Linked DNA regions of Homo sapiens: region 1 is linked to region 2. The links are contacts of gene promoters, found by promoter capture Hi-C in human tissues and cell types (Jung and others, 2019). All regions are on one chromosome and are shown on one strand. Each heading gives the region's core, a stretch centred on a gene start or on the middle of the fragment in contact. The rest is flanking DNA. Distances are from core to core; before and after follow the strand shown.

Region 1 (4,445 bases), core at 1,637-4,136, 240 kb after region 2:
AAAATGTAAAGACCATTGACACTATGAAGAAACTGCATCAACTAATGGGCAAAATAACCAGCTAGCATCATAATGACAGGATCAAATTCACAAATAACAGTATTAACCTTAAATGTAAATGGGCTAAATGCTCTGATTAAAAGGCACAGACTGGCAAATTGGATAAAGAGTCAAGACCCACTGGTGTGCTGTATTCAGAAGACCCATCTCATGTGCAAAGACACACTAGGCTCAAAATAAAGGGATGGAGGAAGATTTGCCCATCAAATGGGAAGTAAAAAGAAAAAGCAGGGGTTGCAATTTTCATCTCTGATAAAACAGATTTTAAACCAACAAATATCAAAAAAGACAAAGAAGGCCATTACATAATGTTAAGAGCTAACTACCATAAATATATATGCACCCAATACAGAAGCACCCACATTCATAAGGCAAGTCCTTAGAGACCTACAAAGAGACTTAGACTCCCACACAATAATAGTGGGAGATTTTAACACCCACTGTCAATATTAGACAGATCAACAAGACAGAAAATTAGCAAGGATATTCAGAACTTGAACTCAGCTCTGGACCAAGCAGATGTAATAGACATCTACAGAACTCTCCACCCTAAATCAACAGAATATACATTCTTCTCAGCACCAATAGCACTTATTCGAAAATCAACCACATAATTGGAAGTAATACGCTCCTCAGAAAATGAAAAAGAACAGAAATCATAACAAAGAGTCTCTCAGACCGCAGTGCAATCAAATTAGAATTCAGGATTAAGAAACTCACTCAAAACCACACAACTACAGGGAAACTGAACAACCTGCTCCTGGATGACTACTGAGTAAATAATGAAATTAAGGCAGAAATAAATAAGTTCTTTGAAACCAACAAAAACAAAGACACAACATATCAAAATCTCTGGGAGTTTTCAGAGGGAAATTTATAGCACTAAATGCCCACAGGAGAAAACAGGAAGGATCTAAAATCAACACCCTAACATCATAGTTAAAAGAGCTAGAGAAGCAAGGGCAAACAAGTTCAAAAGCTAGCAGAAGACAAAAAATAACTAAGATCAGAGCAGAACTGAAGGAGAGAGAGACACGAAATACCCTTCAAAAAAATCAGTGACTCCAGGAGCTGGTTTTTTGAAATGATTAACAGAATAGTTAGACCGCTAGCCAGACTAATAAAGAAAAAAAGAGAGAAGAATCAAATAGACACAATAAAAAATGGTAGAGAGGAGATCACCGCTGATCCCACAGAAATACAAACTACCATCAGAGAATACTATAAACACCTCTATGCAAATAAACTAGAAAATCTAGAAGAAATTGATAAATTCCTGGACACATACACCCTCTGAAGGTAAAACCAGGGAGAAGTTGAATCCCTGAGTAGACCAATAACAAGGTCTGAAATTGAGGCACTAAATTAAGAGCCTACCAACCAAAACAGCCCAGGACCAGACAGATTCACAGCCGAATTCTACCAGAAGTACAAAGAGGAACTGGTACCGTTCCTCCTGAAACTATTCCAAACAAGAGGGACTCTGCCCTAACTCATTTTATGAGGTCAGCATCATCCTGATACCAACACCTGGCAGAGACACAATAAAAAAAGAAAATTTCAGGCCAGTATCCCTGATGAACATCAATGCAAAAGTCCTCCATAAAATACTGGCAAACCGAATCCAGCAGCACATCAAAAAGCCATGACCAAGTTGGCTTCATCCTTGGGATGCAAGGCTGGTTCAACATATGCAAGTCAATAATTGCAATCCATCACATAAACAGAACCAATGACAAAAACCACATGATTATCTCAATAGATTCAGAAAAGGCCTTTGATAAAATTCAACACCCTTTCATGCTAAAAACACTCAATAAACTGGGTATTGATGGAACAAATATAAAAATAATATGAGCTATTTATGACAAACCAACAGCTAATATCATATTGAATAGGAAAAAGCTGGAAGCTTTCCCTTTGAAAACCGGCACAAGACAAGGATGCCCTCTCTCACCACTCCTATTCAGCATAGTATTGGAAGTTCTGGCCAGGGCAATCAGGAAAGAGAAAGAAATAAAGCTTATTCAAATAGGAAGAGAGGAAGCCAAATTATCTCTATTTGCAGATGATGTGATTGTATATTTAGAAAACCCCATTGTCTCAGCCGAAAATCTCATTAAGGTGATAAGCAACTTCAGCAAAGTCTCAGGATACAAAATCAATGTGCAAAAATCACAAGCATTTCGATACACCAATAATAGACAGCCAAATCATGAGCAAACTCCCACTCACAATTGCTACAAAGAGAAGAAGATACCTAGGAATACAACTTACAAGGGATGTGAAGGACCTCTTCAAGGAGAACTACAAACCACTACTCAAGGATATAAGAGAGGACACAAGCAAATGGAAAAACATTCCATGCTCATGGATAGGAAGAATCAGTATCGTGAAAATGGTCATACTTCCCAATGCAAATCAAAACCACAATGAGATATCATCTCATGCCAGTTAGAATGGCCATTATCAAAAAGTCAGGAAACAGCAGATGCTGGAGAGGATGTGGAGAAATAGGAATGCTTTTACACTGTCAGTGGGAGTGTAAATTAGTTCAACCATTGTGGAAGACAGTGTGGTGATTCCTCAAGGATCTAGAACCAGAAATACCATTTCACCCAGCAATCCCATTACTGGGTATATACCCAAAGGGTTATAAATCATTCTGCTATAAAGAAACAGGCACAAGTCTGTTTACTGCAGCACTGTTCACAATAGCAAAGACTTAGAACCAACCCAAATGCCCATCAGTGTTAGACCAGATAAAGAAAATGTGGCACATATATACCATGGAATAGTATGCAGCCATAAAAAAGAATGAGTTCATGCCCTTTTCAGGCTCATGGATGAAGCTGGAAACCATCACACTCAGCAAACTAACACAGGAACAGAAAACCAAACACTGCATGTTGTCACTCATATGTGGGAGTTGAATAATGAGAACATATGGGCACAGAGAGGGGAACTTCACACACCAGGGCCTGTTGGGGGTGGAGGGCAAGGAGACAGATAGCATTAGGAGAAATCCCTAATGTAGATGACGGGTTGATGGGTTGATGGATGCAGCAAACCACCATGGCACATGTATACCTATGTAACAAACCTGCATGTTCTGCACATGTATCCCAGAACTTAAAGTATAATTAAAAAAAAAAAAAAACATTTGGCTGAGCGTGGTGGCTCATGCCTGTAATGCCAGCACTTTGGGAAGCCAAGGCAGGTGGATCACCTGAGGTCGGGAGTTTGAGACCAGCCTGACCAACATGGAGAAAACCCTGTCTCTACTCAAAATCCAAAAATTAGGCGTGGTGGCGCATGCCTGTAATCCCCACTACTTGGGAGGCTGAGGCGGGAGAATCGCTTGAACCTGGGAGGCAGAGGTTGTGGTGAGCCGAGATCGCGCCATTGCACTCCAGCCTGGGTAGCAAGAGCGAAACTCTGTCTCAAAAAAAAAAAAAAAAAAACCTCATGAATAATTTTATATTGAAAAATGTTGTAATAATAACATTTTGGCTATATCATGTAAATAAAATATATTTTGAAATTAATGTACCCTTTTTCTTTTCACTTTTTAAAAAAATGTGACTACTAGAAAGTATTCAATTACATATATAGTTTCCCTTATATTTCTATAAGATGGCATAGACTTCCATGTTGCCTACTACCTCTTTTTAGCTAGAGTCTATATTTTTTCTGCTGTTATTACATTGTGTTATTTTTTAACACATGTATCAGATGTTTGGCACATATAAATCTCATGGTCAGCTAAGACCTTCAAATTATTCTCATAGACATGATTATCAGGTCATATTGTTCCATCCTGCATTTGGCCTCTCTGAAACTAACTGCTAGACTTTGTATACTAATTAAATTTGTGTATTCTCTGCCCTTAAGAGTAGTTGGGTTGAAGACTCTACATATTTTTTCCTCTCAAATATTATTTTAATGAATATTATTTTAATGATCTGGAAGTCCTGAATTTTAGTTCTATTTCTACTGCTATTATTCAAATTCGGAGAGACACTGTTTAATCTGTGTTTTTTAAAAAATTGTAAAACATTAGATTGCCCTTTAATAACATCTAACTTCAAAATTCCATTTTTCTGATAAATGAATTCTTATTTCTGTGATGTTTGATAGATTATTTCCTTAAGAATAAGGGGCCTGAAATGAAAGAAAGATCGCAACTTTCCTTAGGGGATAACTATTATCAGCGGTTTCCTGGTTGGTAAACCAGCTTGTGGGGGTGGGAGATGATTTGTAACATTTGCTAATTTCTGTAGTGTAGCTTCTCCCACCATCTTAACCAATTTCAAGCATCAGCTGGCTTGCAAAATTCTAGGAAATTTAAAAATCAACTCTCTCAAATCAATAAGAACTAGCTT
Region 2 (4,781 bases), core at 1,327-3,826:
AATGGAAAATGTTCAGCAATAGTGAGTAGGTAAGCAAGCAGTGACTCATATAATATTATGGGTGAATCTCAGAAACATAATGTTAAAAATAAAGCCATACAAATAAACATATGAAAAGATGCTCCACCTCTACACCAACAGGGCATCTAGAAGAGTGGATCTCAACATTGGCTGCACCCCGAAATCACCTGAGGAGCATTAAAGAATAAAAGCCTCATTTCATCTCAAGAGATTTGATTTGATTGGTTGTATTTGGCCTGGACATTGAGATTTTTAAAAAGCCCCTTAGATAATTTCAATGTGCAGCCAAGAGCGAGGACCTAGGTCTTTAAGGGAATCCTGGGACAACTTCAGTGTCCACCAAGGAAAGGAAGCCAGATGAAGTTGCAAATTTTGTAGCCACTGCAGGTGAAGAAATGGCTAATTTTTGGAGGAAAACTGAGGTGAAGATCTGGATCTATTAAGACCAAGTGCCTGAGAGGAGGAAACAGTTCTCTGGCCCCACAGCTGGCAGAACTAAGAGCCTTGGTGGTGAGCTGCTACAACTGTGAAGCCTGTGAACCACGAAGCCTATCAAGATTTAAATGTCTGGTATACCTTGTTTTCTCCTGAGTCTTTCAGTACCTGATTTGAGGAAAGCCTTCCTGGCTGGGTTCCTGTGCAGGAATACAGACAATGCCAAATCTCTACAAATTTACCTTTCAGCTAGGTGATTTTGGTAGGGTCTCCAACCAGAGAGACCAATACTTGGTACCAGGCAAAGCACCATCTTCAAAGGCAAATTGGGCATAGCCAGAAAGCCCACACAGGGCACCTACTGGCATCCAGGTCACCTACTGAGCAAATATCTGCTTCTCTTCCATCATTATAGAGTAGGTAAAAGTGCATTTCTGGATCAGTGTATTTTCAGACAAAACGACCCCTATCCTCTCGTGCCTCTTGAAGTTGAAGTTATGTGGTACCTCTTGAAGCTGGAATTATGACATAATTATCATTCCAAGTTTGTCTTTGTTTCCATGAAAATTGCGAAGTTTGAAGAGGATTATATCCTTATTGTAGTAGTGAATATTTCCAAAAATGATGCTAGCACAAGTTCCGAGAAAGAGGTTTAACAGTCATGTTAAAAGCCAAACATATTATCTTGGGATTTAGATATTATTTCAGAAGAGATGATTTCTCATGGTTTGATTTATACCAATAATAAGCTATAGTATATAAAGGATTTACACCAAATACTTAATTATTTTGTTCATTTTATCAAAACAAACCTAGGGTACCAACATTATTCTTGCCTAGGCCATGTATAGTGCTTAATTATTTTATTCATCTATAAGTGAGTTCATTGATACAAAGTGGAGAGACTTTCAATTGTGTTTTATAGAAGAAATTGGAAGGCTTTGTGAGGAATCAGAGTTGTATTCCTGAAGAATCAGAGGCATATTTATGAAGACTCACAGGCGTATTAATGAAGAGCTCATTTCATGTCCATTCTCAGCACAGTGTCCGGGAATCTGCCTTGTGGTCGGCTCTTACCTTCAGGCTGCTCTGAGCCCAGAGCAGAATGGTCATCACAGCTCTCCTCAACTTGGCATTGCCTGAGATCAGGATGGCTGCATGCCCAGAGGGACAAGCTGCCATTATCCCAACACAAACCATCACCCCTATTTTGTCGCGCCACAGAATCAGTAGGGGCACAGAGATGAAGGCAGCACAGGATGATATCACAAAGAAGCAGAAAAAGGAGACAAGAGACTTGAGGGCTTTAATGTGGGCCTCCAGGCTGGGGTCACGAGAGTTTCTGGTATAGACCTTCATTGTCCTCATGTGCCTTCCCAGGGAGACAGTCAGCATCCCAGAAGAAACCAGAAACAATAGGAAAGGAGGCACAGACCACAGATAGCAGAAGAGAAAGGAATAAAATAAATTGAGATCTTTAATCTGCCAGTTGAGCCTTGTATTGTTATTCATGAATAGCACAGTTGTGACTGTGAAGTGAGGTCTGCTAAAAAAGCACCAAACACAGAGGACAGTGCAGATGCAGGAGCAAAGAATAATACCCAGGAGCATCTGGGAGATCTTCCTGGAGACCCAGCTTGCCAAGCAGATCAGGAAGGTGTGAGAGAAACGGATGAGCTTGGAGCAGTAAAGCAGGCTGAGGCAGGCAGCAAGCCAGAGGTTGGCTTGGTTTGCAATCATCCATAGCATGATGATGGCTTGGTAGCTGTGGTTCAGTGGTTCACTCAACTTCTGGAAGTGGGTAAGCTGGATAGCACTCAGGAACAGCAGTCCATGCAGGAAAAGCCGGCTGATGCTGAGACACAGCAGCACACAATCACTGTTGCTCAGTGCCTGCCTCTTCACTACATCCCAAAAATTCACCAAGAAAACGAAGGCATTGGTCAGAAACCCCACTGCAAACTCCAGGACTGAAATGAACAGAAATGTACTCCTGACTTCATAGGACACAGTGCGGATGCGAGTTAGAGTCAACATGATGTCACTTCTCTAATTGGCTATTCTACTTCTCTTCTCTAGTTGGCTAATCTAAAGACCTGGTTGCCACCCAGTGCAGAAAGGTAAATGTACGTTCCAAGCCAGGACCTTTCCTTCACAAAGCATCCAGCTCTTTGCCTAGATCTATCCCAAAGCGAGCGCATAAAAAGTTCTGGCAGGAAACTTAGAGGGATGTTGTTTCTCTAGAACATCTCTTGGATACACGTAAGAGCTTATCATAGGGTGGAAGACTGATGGTTCTACCTCTTGGGTGATGCAAGATTAATAAATCCAGGTGTTCCTGTACAACCGCCTTCCCAGAAGGCCATAGCACAGCATCACGGATGCAAACAAAACAGGGCCTCAATTTCCCCAATCCAGTTTTGCATGCCCATCTGGACCTGTGGGGGTGGCGAAGAGAACAGGATTTGCTTATGGGTTTTGAGGCACCCTGCAGCAGGCAAAGCAGATATTCTTGGTGATCTAAGGTTTGAAATAGAGTCTCTTTTCATTTGCATTCCTTCTCTCATCTGTGAAGTAATGACTCTTATCACAGACTGTGTTTTTAATATAGATAAATGCATGGTTCCTTTCCATGTGTCAGTGTATGATTGCAGTTTTATTTGCTGTTGCCAAAGGTTTCATGCAATCATCATTATTATGCCAGGCACTGTGCCTGGCAAGGAGAATATTAACATGAACAAGACTAGCACGCTGTCATGAAGGGAGAGGAAAGGGGGCATAGCTGGTTTGGATTATTATTATGTTTATTTTTTAATTAGTATAAGTTCTGGGGTACATGTGCAGAACATGCAGGCTTGTTACATAGGCATACACCTGCCATGGTGGTTCGCTGCACCCATCAACCCGTTATCTATATTAGGTATTTCTCCTAATGGTCTCCTTCCCCTTGCCCCCTACCCCCTGACAGGCCCTGGTGTTTGATGTTCCCCTCCCTGTGTCCATGTGTTCTCATTGTTCAACTGCCACTTATGAGTGAATTTCCCCCGATAAATCCTTTAAGAGTTATTGGTGCTGCCCCATTGGTGTTTTTCGATACTTTCTCTTTGTATTTTTTATGTTTTCTTTTGACTAAAGCTCCTTTTTTATTATTAGTAGTGACATAAGTCAGTGATTACTAAAGATGTTCACTTTTGTTTTATTCTGAACTGTTCATACGCAGATATTTATGTAGTCCTTATTTGTGCATCATGATGTAGCAGTTGTATTTAATTAATTGTGTTTGTGACCACTTCATTTGGGTCATTCATGCTTACAGAGTGTCAAACACAGAATTCTGCACTTTCAACTTAAGCTAATTTTCTCCTTGTCTTCACCACACCAGGTGGCGGTGTTGCACTAAAGGTGTTTAGAAAAGATGTTTGCCTCCCTAAAAAGTCTAGGTAGAAACTTGCTCTACTGCACAAGCAGAGATATATAACTATACAGTTAGAACCATTTATATCAAGATTATAATCTTTTATTAAAAAATAAAGTTCTTTATGTTATTTCTTGGAACACCAGATCCAATCTTAATTTTTCAATAATCAAGGGCTCTTTCAGAGAAAGGTAACACAAACCTTCATTGATACACCCCCTCCATTTGACTTATGTACACACAGTGTTTGGGATTATCTAAGTAATCTCCTTTGCAGATAGTCCTTAGCTATTGGCTATTTTTTGAAAAATGGTTTACTCAGGAAGCTAAAAACAGTAAAGTCAACTGCAATGCCAGTAAGAGCAGTGGTAGGAACACAAAAGCTCCTTATTTGTTATTAGTAGTGATATAAGTCAGTGACTACATCTTTATCAGATGTAATTAAAAAAATCTTAGTCCCTGGATTTTGCAACTAAACAGATGTTAAAAATTCTTAACCTATATAAATTGGTGTTTCGACTTTTGCTGCCATTTATTTTTGGAGATTGGAATTACATTCTTTGGATTGATTTTTAAAAATTGGTCTTTGTTAGCTTGACAGAAGAACACTATTATTAGTAATATCAAACCTCATTCCCTTAAAATACCTTGCTTAGATGTTTCCAATGACTAGAGAAATGGACATACCAATATATGTTTATTAAGAGCAAAATATATTCCACCTGTTGTAATGGGCATTGAGGACACACTGGTAAACAAAGGCGTATTAGAGGAACTGAAAGAGCACAGCCTTAAAGCCATAAAGCTTAAAGTAAGCCATACCTTACTTTAGAGGAAAAACACCACTAGATGACTTCAGATAGCGGAGTGAACTGAAAGAAACAATGTTGGGGGAGAGACAACGGACAGG

The links. Contacts are between HindIII fragments. The study calls those that stand out against the background at their distance.
Region 1: a contact is called between a fragment that was not itself captured here and the fragment with the promoter of TAS2R38 in region 2, in 2 of the 25 tissues and cell types used here (H1 embryonic stem cells and small bowel).

What each region holds. Positions count from the first base shown.
Region 1 is chr7:142,212,254-142,216,698 of GRCh38, forward strand. All of the region lies in intron 46 of MGAM2 (maltase-glucoamylase 2 (putative)), which reads left to right. Among named protein-coding and RNA genes, the nearest start is that of PRSS58, 44 kb to the right of the region's middle. The HindIII fragment of the contact is 7,209 bases long and covers 1-4,445 here.
Region 2 is chr7:141,971,197-141,975,977 of GRCh38, forward strand. TAS2R38 (taste 2 receptor member 38) reads right to left here and starts at 2,577. Exons shown (of 1, transcript NM_176817.5): 1 at 1,435-2,577. The coding sequence starts at 2,493. The coding sequence ends at 1,492. The HindIII fragment of the contact is 11,635 bases long and covers 1-4,781 here.